Linked DNA regions of Homo sapiens: all the other regions are linked to region 1. Evidence: promoter capture Hi-C in 16 types of primary human blood cells and fetal thymus (Javierre and others, 2016). All regions are on one chromosome and are shown on one strand. The core of a region is centred on a gene start or on the middle of the fragment in contact, and the rest is flanking DNA. Distances in the headings are between cores, read along the strand shown. Region 1 holds the start of SAR1B (secretion associated Ras related GTPase 1B). Region 2 overlaps UBE2B (ubiquitin conjugating enzyme E2 B). Region 3 overlaps CDKN2AIPNL (CDKN2A interacting protein N-terminal like).

Evidence for each region. The method cuts DNA at HindIII sites, captures the fragments that hold promoters and counts their contacts. A CHiCAGO score of 5 or more calls a contact.
Region 2: a fragment that was not itself captured here is called in contact with the fragment with the promoter of SAR1B in region 1 in 4 of 17 cell types (activated CD4 T cells, megakaryocytes, M0 macrophages and 1 more); the score reaches 5.4 in activated CD4 T cells.
Region 3: a fragment that was not itself captured here is called in contact with the fragment with the promoter of SAR1B in region 1 in 5 of 17 cell types (total CD8 T cells, activated CD4 T cells, naive CD8 T cells and 2 more); the score reaches 7.8 in total CD8 T cells.

The regions. Positions count from the first base shown.
Region 1 is chr5:134,631,531-134,634,135 of GRCh38, forward strand. It overlaps SAR1B (secretion associated Ras related GTPase 1B), which reads right to left and starts at 1,298. Exons shown (of 7, transcript NM_016103.4): 1 at 1,198-1,298. RefSeq lists silencers at 1,010-1,119, 1,170-1,219 and an enhancer at 1,193-1,749. The HindIII fragment of the contact is 3,405 bases long and covers 223-2,605 here.
Region 2 is chr5:134,388,961-134,391,565 of GRCh38, forward strand. UBE2B (ubiquitin conjugating enzyme E2 B) reads left to right here. Exons shown (of 6, transcript NM_003337.4): 6 at 1,265-2,605. The coding sequence ends at 1,393. Among named protein-coding and RNA genes, the nearest start is that of UBE2B, 19 kb to the left of the region's middle. The HindIII fragment of the contact is 476 bases long and covers 1,062-1,537 here.
Region 3 is chr5:134,407,925-134,410,529 of GRCh38, forward strand. CDKN2AIPNL (CDKN2A interacting protein N-terminal like) reads right to left here. Exons shown (of 3, transcript NM_080656.3): 2 at 1,979-2,078. Among named protein-coding and RNA genes, the nearest start is that of CDKN2AIPNL, 2.7 kb to the right of the region's middle. The HindIII fragment of the contact is 868 bases long and covers 889-1,756 here.

The sequences.
Region 1 (2,605 bases), core at 48-2,547:
ACTTTAACACGGAATATAGGACGTCTTCAAAGACACTTAGTAATATAGAGGCTGATGTAAGAACACACAAATAAATAATACTATGTTTAATTTTTCAAGTTAAAAGGACTTCTTCACCTCATTTTGTCCACTGTACCAAACACCTTAAATTGCTGACGAATTTGGTTCTTTCAGCTAACAATGTCAAAGTTTTAGCTGTTTTAAAACAAATCTTCTTGGAAAAGCTTCAACACCTTAAAAATCAGTACAGTGGCCCACTGAGGTGGCTCATGCCTTTAATCCCAGCACTTTGGGAGGCCGAGGCGAGCAGATCACCTGAGGTCAGGAGTTGGAGACCAGACTGGCCAACATAGAGAAATCCCATCTCTACTAAAAATAGAAAAGTTAGACCGGATGCGGTGGCTCACGCCTATAATCCCAGCACTTTGGGAGGCCGAGGCAGGCGGATCACGAGGTCAGGAGATAAGAGACCATCCTGGCTAACACGGTGAAACCCCATCTCTACTAAAAAATACAAAAAAATTAGCGGTGCGTGGTGGCGGGCACCTGTAGTCCCAGCTACTCGGGAGGCTGAGGCAGGAGAATGGCGTGAACCCGGGAGGCGGAGCTTGCAGTAAGCCGAGATCGTGCCACTTCACTCCAGCCTGGGCGACAAGAGGGAAACTCTGTCTCAAAACAACAACAAAAATTTAAAAAATTAAAACAAAAATCAGTACAGTTTTCTCAACAGTGTATCTTTTTTCCACTTAACTGGGACTTTGGGCTACGGAAAACGTTAACCAGTACTAGTAAGGAAGCTCAATTTGCCTCTACACTAATTGGGAGCGCTGAAAACACCAGGCCGTGTCACAGCCTCTTCAGCTGTCAGTGAGACCCGCCACCTTCACCTTACCAGGTAAGGAAACTGAGGCCCAGGGGAAGGAAGGGGCTTGCCTGCAGCCACCTCGTTCTTTCCTGAAAAGACCAAGCGTCTGACAGCAGCAGTGTTCTGCCTCGAGGGCTATCAGACGGCCCCGCGGAGCATGGATGAGACCTGTCCTCCCTCGCGCCGCCTAACCCCGGGGTGAAAAACAGGCGCCCCTTCACGCAGTGCCACAGGCAGGGACTCAGAGTAGGTCTTGGCCCTAAAAGTGCGCCTTCTAGGGGATCCATAGCTGCTGCCCACCGGTCCTCCCAGAAGGAGGGGCTGTCACTCACCTGCGACTGGAGGGAACGCAATCCCCTACTTGGCGTTGGCCGTACACCAGGAGACCGAACTGCAAAGCGCGATGGCTGCCGTGGCCCCAGTTCGCATCAGCCCCTTCCGGGCCGGCGGGTGCCTCACTAGCGACAGTCCGCAGGACCGCGTCGCCGAGCGCCCTAGGTTCCGCCTCCTGGCAGTCTTGCCGCCAATTCCCCAGTTGAGCGAGGCTGCTCGCAACCCCTAACACCGCCTGGGTCTCCCAGCCGCCTGGTCTCCCCACACCCGCCCGCCCGAAGGGATTTTAGGGGCCTGCGTGCCGAGAAAGGAACACCCCATGCCTCCCTAGGGGAAATTACTTTTGGCATTTTTTTTTTTTGAGACGTTGTCTCGCTCTGTCTCCCAGGCTGGGGTGCAGTGGCACGATCTCGGCTCACTGCAGCCTCCACCCCCTGGATTCAAGAGATTCTCCTACCTCAGCCTCCCCAGTAGCGGGGACTACAGGCACCCGCCACCACTGTCCGGCTAATTTTTTTTTTTTTTGAAACGGAGCCTCGATTTTGTCGCCCAGGCTGGAGTGCAATGGCGCGATCTCAGCTCACTGTAACCTCCGCCTCCCGGGTTCAAGCGATTCTTCTACCTCAGCCTCCTGAGTAGCTGGGAGCACAGGCGCGCACCACCATGCCCGGCTAATTTTTGTATTTTTAGTAGAGACGGGGTTTCACCATGTTGGCCAGGCTGGTCTCGAACTCTTGACCTAAAGTGAACCGCCCGCCTCGGCCTCCCAAAGTGCTAGGATTACAGGCGTGAGCCACTGCGCCCGGCTAATTTTTGTATTTTTAGTAGAGACCGGGTTTCATCATGTTGGCCAGGCTGGTCTCAAACTCCCTAGCATAAGTGATCCACCTGCCTCAGCCTCCCAAAGTGCTGGGATCACCACCGCGCCCTGCCTAAAATACATTTTCAAAGTACACGTGCTTATTGAATTCATTTTTTTTTCTTTTTTTGTTATTTGTGCTTATTGAATTCACCAGTGATTTACACAATGTAGCTACGTACCAGATAATGTGTTGGATGCTGGTTATTCAGCTTTTATTCAGCTGGTTATTCAGTTGTTTTATAGACGGTCTTGGCCAGGCGCGGTGGTTCACACCTGTAATCTCAGCACTTTGGGAGGTCAAGGTGGGTGAATCACCTGAGGTTAGAGTTCAAGACCAGCCTGGCCAACATGGTGAAACCCCATCTCTACAAAAATACGAAAATTACCCAGGCATGATGGCAGGTGCCTGTAACGCCAGCTACTCGGTAGGCCGAGGCAGGAGAATTGCTTGAACCCGGGAGGTGGAGGTTGCAGTGAGCCGAGATTGCACCATTGCACTCTAGCCTGGGCGACAGAGCGAGACTCTGTCTCCGTCTCAAAAAATA
Region 2 (2,605 bases), core at 50-2,549, 240 kb before region 1:
TTTTTTTTTGAGACAGTGTCTTGCTCTGTTGCCCAGACTGGAGTGCAATGGCACAATCTTGGCTCACCGCAACCTCTGCCTCCCGGGTTCAAGTGATTATCCTGCCTCAGCCTCCTGAGTAGCTAGGACTATAGGCACATGCTACCACGCCTGGCTAAGTTTTTGTATTTTTAGTAGAGATGGGGTTTCACAGTGTTAGCCAGGATGGTCTCCATCTGACCTCATGATCCGCCCGTCTGAGCCTCCGAAAGTGTTGGGATTACAGGCGTGAGCTACTGCACCAGGCCAGTTCTGGTCATCTTACAAGCGTTGTTTTTCAACCTTCCTATCTCATTCTCTTCCTGCTAAATGTATATGTTTTGTTGATTAAAGGAAATAAGACTTATCTCCCAAATTTACTGTCAAGACATTTGCAAAGTAACTGCAGTAATAGAGTTTAACCTTGGAAAATGTTGGTTACTGAGAATTATTGATATCTTAACCAAATTAAGCTGTTTATTTCCTTGGTTTAATGAGAACGTCTCAATATGCTTAAGAATATTCTTTTCTGATTTCTTTCAAATTATAGGTATTTTTTTCTTTTCTTTTTTCTTTTTTTTTTTTTTGAGACGGAATTTCACCCTTGTTGCCCAGGCTGGAGTACAGTGGCGCGATCTCAGCTCACTGCAACCTCTGCCTCCCGGGTTCAAGCAATTCTCCTGCCTCAGCCTTCCGAGTAGCGGATTACGGGCATGCGCCACCACACCCGGCTAATTTTGTATTTTTAGAAATTACGGGGTTTTCTCCATGTTGGTCAGGCTGGTCTCGAACTCCCTACCTCAGGTGATCTGCCCGCCTCGGCCTCCCACAGTGCTGGGATTACAGGCGTGAGCCACCACACCCGACCTCTTTTTCTTTTTTAATAGAAACAGGGTCTCCCTATGTTGCCCAGGCTGGGCTTGAACTGCTGGGCTCAAGGGATCCTCCTGCCTTGGCCTCCCAAAGTGTTAGGATTACAGGCACAAGCCACTGTACCCAGCTGAAATTATAGGTCTTAAGGCAATTGAGAACTTTATTTCAGAAGCTTAAGTTCCTTAGCAGCAGGAAACCCCATAGTATTTATCAAATCATTTCTAAAAGTATTTAGACCCAAAATTATATGACATGTTAATCTCTGAAGTAATTTGTTGTTTTGTATAACTTTTCTGTAATATATTCCATATCTGACCCCTGTTGGTATAAAGAACAACTATGCAAATCTGTTTTTTCTTTTCTTTCCTCCTAGTCTCTGCTGGATGAACCGAATCCTAACAGTCCAGCCAATAGCCAGGCAGCACAGCTTTATCAGGAAAACAAACGAGAATATGAGAAAAGAGTTTCGGCCATTGTTGAACAAAGCTGGAATGATTCATAATAGACAACTGGTCTGTTAATCTTTTTCATCATTGTTGTGTATAATTTACCTCTCATTAGAAAGGCTAACAAATTTTAAGTGCCACAGGTTTTAAGGATTCTGCAGAAAAAAAAGAAAAAAGTCCTTCAGTTTAGAACCTACAAAAGCTTGTGTATCTTGATTAATGTACTTTTTATTGCATGGTGTGAACTAAGTTATTGCTGCATAAATTTGTAATATATCCTGTTTGTATTTTTTTCCAAGTGTATAATGTTGGTGTGGAGTTTTCATGACAGAATATACACATTTTGTAAATCTGTACTTTTTTCAAATATTGAATGCCTTATTTTTGAATTCTTTAGATTTTTAAATTGGAGAAAAGCACTTAAAGTTTTTTATATATGAATATTACATGTAAAGCTGTTAAAATACATAACTTCAGTGCAAGAGACTTTGTCACTTATTTCCTTATGTGTGTAGGAGGGGTTAATAAGTCTCTAGCTCTCCATCTATTGATAGTTTCATTTACAATTTCAAAAGAACATTCTTATATTTTATCAAGGAAGTCTTCAAATTTGATTCTAAATAGCGATTATAATCTCCAACTTTATTTTGAATGTACCTCTATTAGTTTCAATTGAGTAATTCTAGACATAACTGGTTTGACTCTGTCCAACTCTGTATTTAGGCCATTTGTTACAGTTTCTTCATGCATTACTTACTGTTAAAACTGTACCTTTTGCGATTTCACAGTTGGCACTTCTGCCATGAGCAGAGAACTGATGCGACTTGTTTTGCTGCTTGGTAGCACTTTAAAAAATTTTTTGATTAATGAAGAAAGTAAAACCATAAACATTTGCCAAAAATTCATGCCCCAGTATTAGCAATGAATTAGTTGCATTGGTTTGAGAAAGGCACATATTGGAGGGAAATCTTGGTGTAACTTAAATATTTGAAAATTACCTTTAATGCAATGCATATCTGTTTATTCTGGGAAATGTTTTAATGCCAGGGCCTGCTGAGTTGCTTCTTCTTGTGGAGATTTTTTTTTTAATCTCCTGAGTTGTATAAAAGTTGTACTGCATCTTAGTTTACTGGATAAATTTAAAACACAGTATTGTAGAAAGCTAATACAAAACTATCCTATGCCTTCAAATAGTATAGAAAATGGAAAATATACAAGTAAATTCTGTTGAACCACCTGTGTAGTCTCTCTAGTAGTTAAAACAGCTA
Region 3 (2,605 bases), core at 73-2,572, 220 kb before region 1:
GTTCAAGACCAGCCTGGACAACATGGCAAAACCCTTTCTCTACTAAAAATACAAAAATTAGCTGGGTATGGTGGCACCCGGCTGTAATCCCAGCTACTGGGGAGGCTGTGGCGCTAGAATCACTTGAGCCTGGGAGGCAGAGGTTGCAGTGAGCTGAGATCGTGCCACTGCACTCCAGCCTGGGTGACAAAGTGAGCCTCTATCTAAAAAATAAATTAAAAATAAAGGCTCACCTCATTCCCTGCCTACCTCTGCCCCTGCCCCTGCCCCATAAGGTATACTCCAGTAGCCAGAAACTATCTAGCTCCTCCCTGGCTGGGCCCCAAGAACCTTACTATAGAACACCCAAGGACTGCCCAGTATTTTTTTAAGTATTACATGAGAAGATCCAAAAAGCCACACACTCCCAATTCACACTGCTCCCTGGCTAAAAACAGTAGCCCCTTTTTAACAGCTGATTTTAGTCCTGGTGCGGTGGCTCACACCTGTAATCCCAGCACTTTGGGAGGCCGAGGCGGGCGGATCACGAGGTCAGGAGATCGAGACCATCCTGGCTAACACGGTGAAACCCCGTCTCTACTAAAAATACAAAAAAAAAAAAAAAAAAAAAATTGGCTGGGCGTGGTGGCAGGCGCCTGTAGTCCCAGCTACTCAGGAGGCTGAGGCAGGAGAATGGTGTGAACCTGGGAGGCAGAGCTTGCAGTGAGCCCAGATCGCACCACCTCACTCCAGCCTGGGCGACACAGGGAGACTCCCTCTCAAAAACAAACAAACAAACAAACAAAAACAAAAAAACAGCTGATTTTACTTACTGATTTTTTGTCAGGAGTACTGTGTTGAGGTAACAGCTGATTTTAAAACATAATAGCATCTCGAAAACCAACCTGAAGCTTTTCCCCAGGTTCAGATTAAAACTAAAAGAATACTTTTTTAAGAAAAACAAACCATCCTGAAAATCAAGTGGGGTGTACTATTTGGGACTGAAATACTTTATGAGCAACTGAGAATCTGATTAGTTCCTTGACACCCATATGGAAGAGGACCTCTATATGTGCCCCACCTCCCAAGACAAGACCTAAATGTGGAGGAATGGGCTTACCTATGTTTCTAAGGGCAGACCTAAAAAGGGGCCAGCAGCTTTTTACTCTACTGCTTCAGTCGATTTTATAAGTATTTTCTGAGTACCTTCTCTGGGGTATAAGTATACTAGGTTTGGGAGTTGTAAAGACTAAATAGAACTTTAGACACCATCTGTAAGGTCACAACTGCTTTAAAAGAGCCCTGGATAAAGTGCCAAAGGAACTTCAGAAGATAAGCGAGCAATTAATTCTGCTGCCTGAGCAGACAAATGTGAAACAAGCATGTTTTGGAGGTGATTCTGAAAAGTATTAATAGCTGGGATGCCCAGCTCCATATTCTGAGGTTCTTTCTGCCACATTCTGTAGCCCCAGCTCCAGTGTCCAGATTCAAGACTCTAGGCAAGACTCACTGTAAAAAGCCCATCGCCTGAGATCAGACCCCAAAGGGTAGAGAACAGCTATGCCATCGACATTGCTCCAGGCACGTTCTTATCAGCAAATCACAGAAGCCAAACAAGTCAGGTCGGCACTCACACCGGCACTCACACCTGGGGTAAGGATGAGTCTTACCAATGAGATTTTTTAACAAGTAGGAAACTTAAGTATTCTAGCCAACATCTTTTTAAACATCAAGCAAAAATCTCAAAACAATGTTCCTAAACAACCGGAAGAGGTTAAGCTTATGTGTTACCTCATCAACAATGCATAATTTACCACAGTGAGTTGTCAACTATTTATGAAAAGGCTTATACCAATTATGGGGAAATAAAAATGAAAGGGTATAGGTCTTTGGGGCAGTAAAGAGCATTCAAAAACAATATACTCTAATATAGTGTCATCAAGGCAGGGACTGTTAACTCTACACCATTTCATCACATGCACTTGGAAATCCTATTTACCTTTTTCATTAATTCACTTCTGGTAGTAAATTGTGGCAGGTCTTCCACTTCAATCCCATCGGCCATTTCCATCACCTTGTCTAAAAGGTCTTTATTGTAACTGCACAATAAAAAGTAGTAAGGTAAAAACCTTGGAACAATTGTCACTGTGGATTAATAAGAAACTGCAGGTTGCTCAACTATAAAATCAGCTCTCAGAGAACTGACCTGATACTGCAGGGCAAACCTATACATGTTCCCCACAAGGTTTTGAGATGGAGTCTTGCTCTGTCCCCCAGGTTGGAGTGCAGTGGTGTGATCTCGGCTCACTGCAACCTCCACCTCCCAGGTTCAAGCAATTCTCCTGCCTCAGCCTCCCGAGTAGCTGGGATTACAGGCGTGTGCCACCACGCCTGGCTAATTTTTTATTTTTAGTAGAGACAGGGTTTCACCATGTTGGCCAGGCTGGTCTCCAACTCCTGACCTCAAGTGATCCTCCTCCCAAAGTGCTAGGATTACTGGCGTGAGACACCGTGCCTGGCCCTGTGAACACTTCTTGCTTGTAGATACAGAAGTGGACTTCAGAAATACCAGTACAGCAGATGTTTCAAGATTTAGAAGAACAGAGGCACTGTACATCCAGCAACA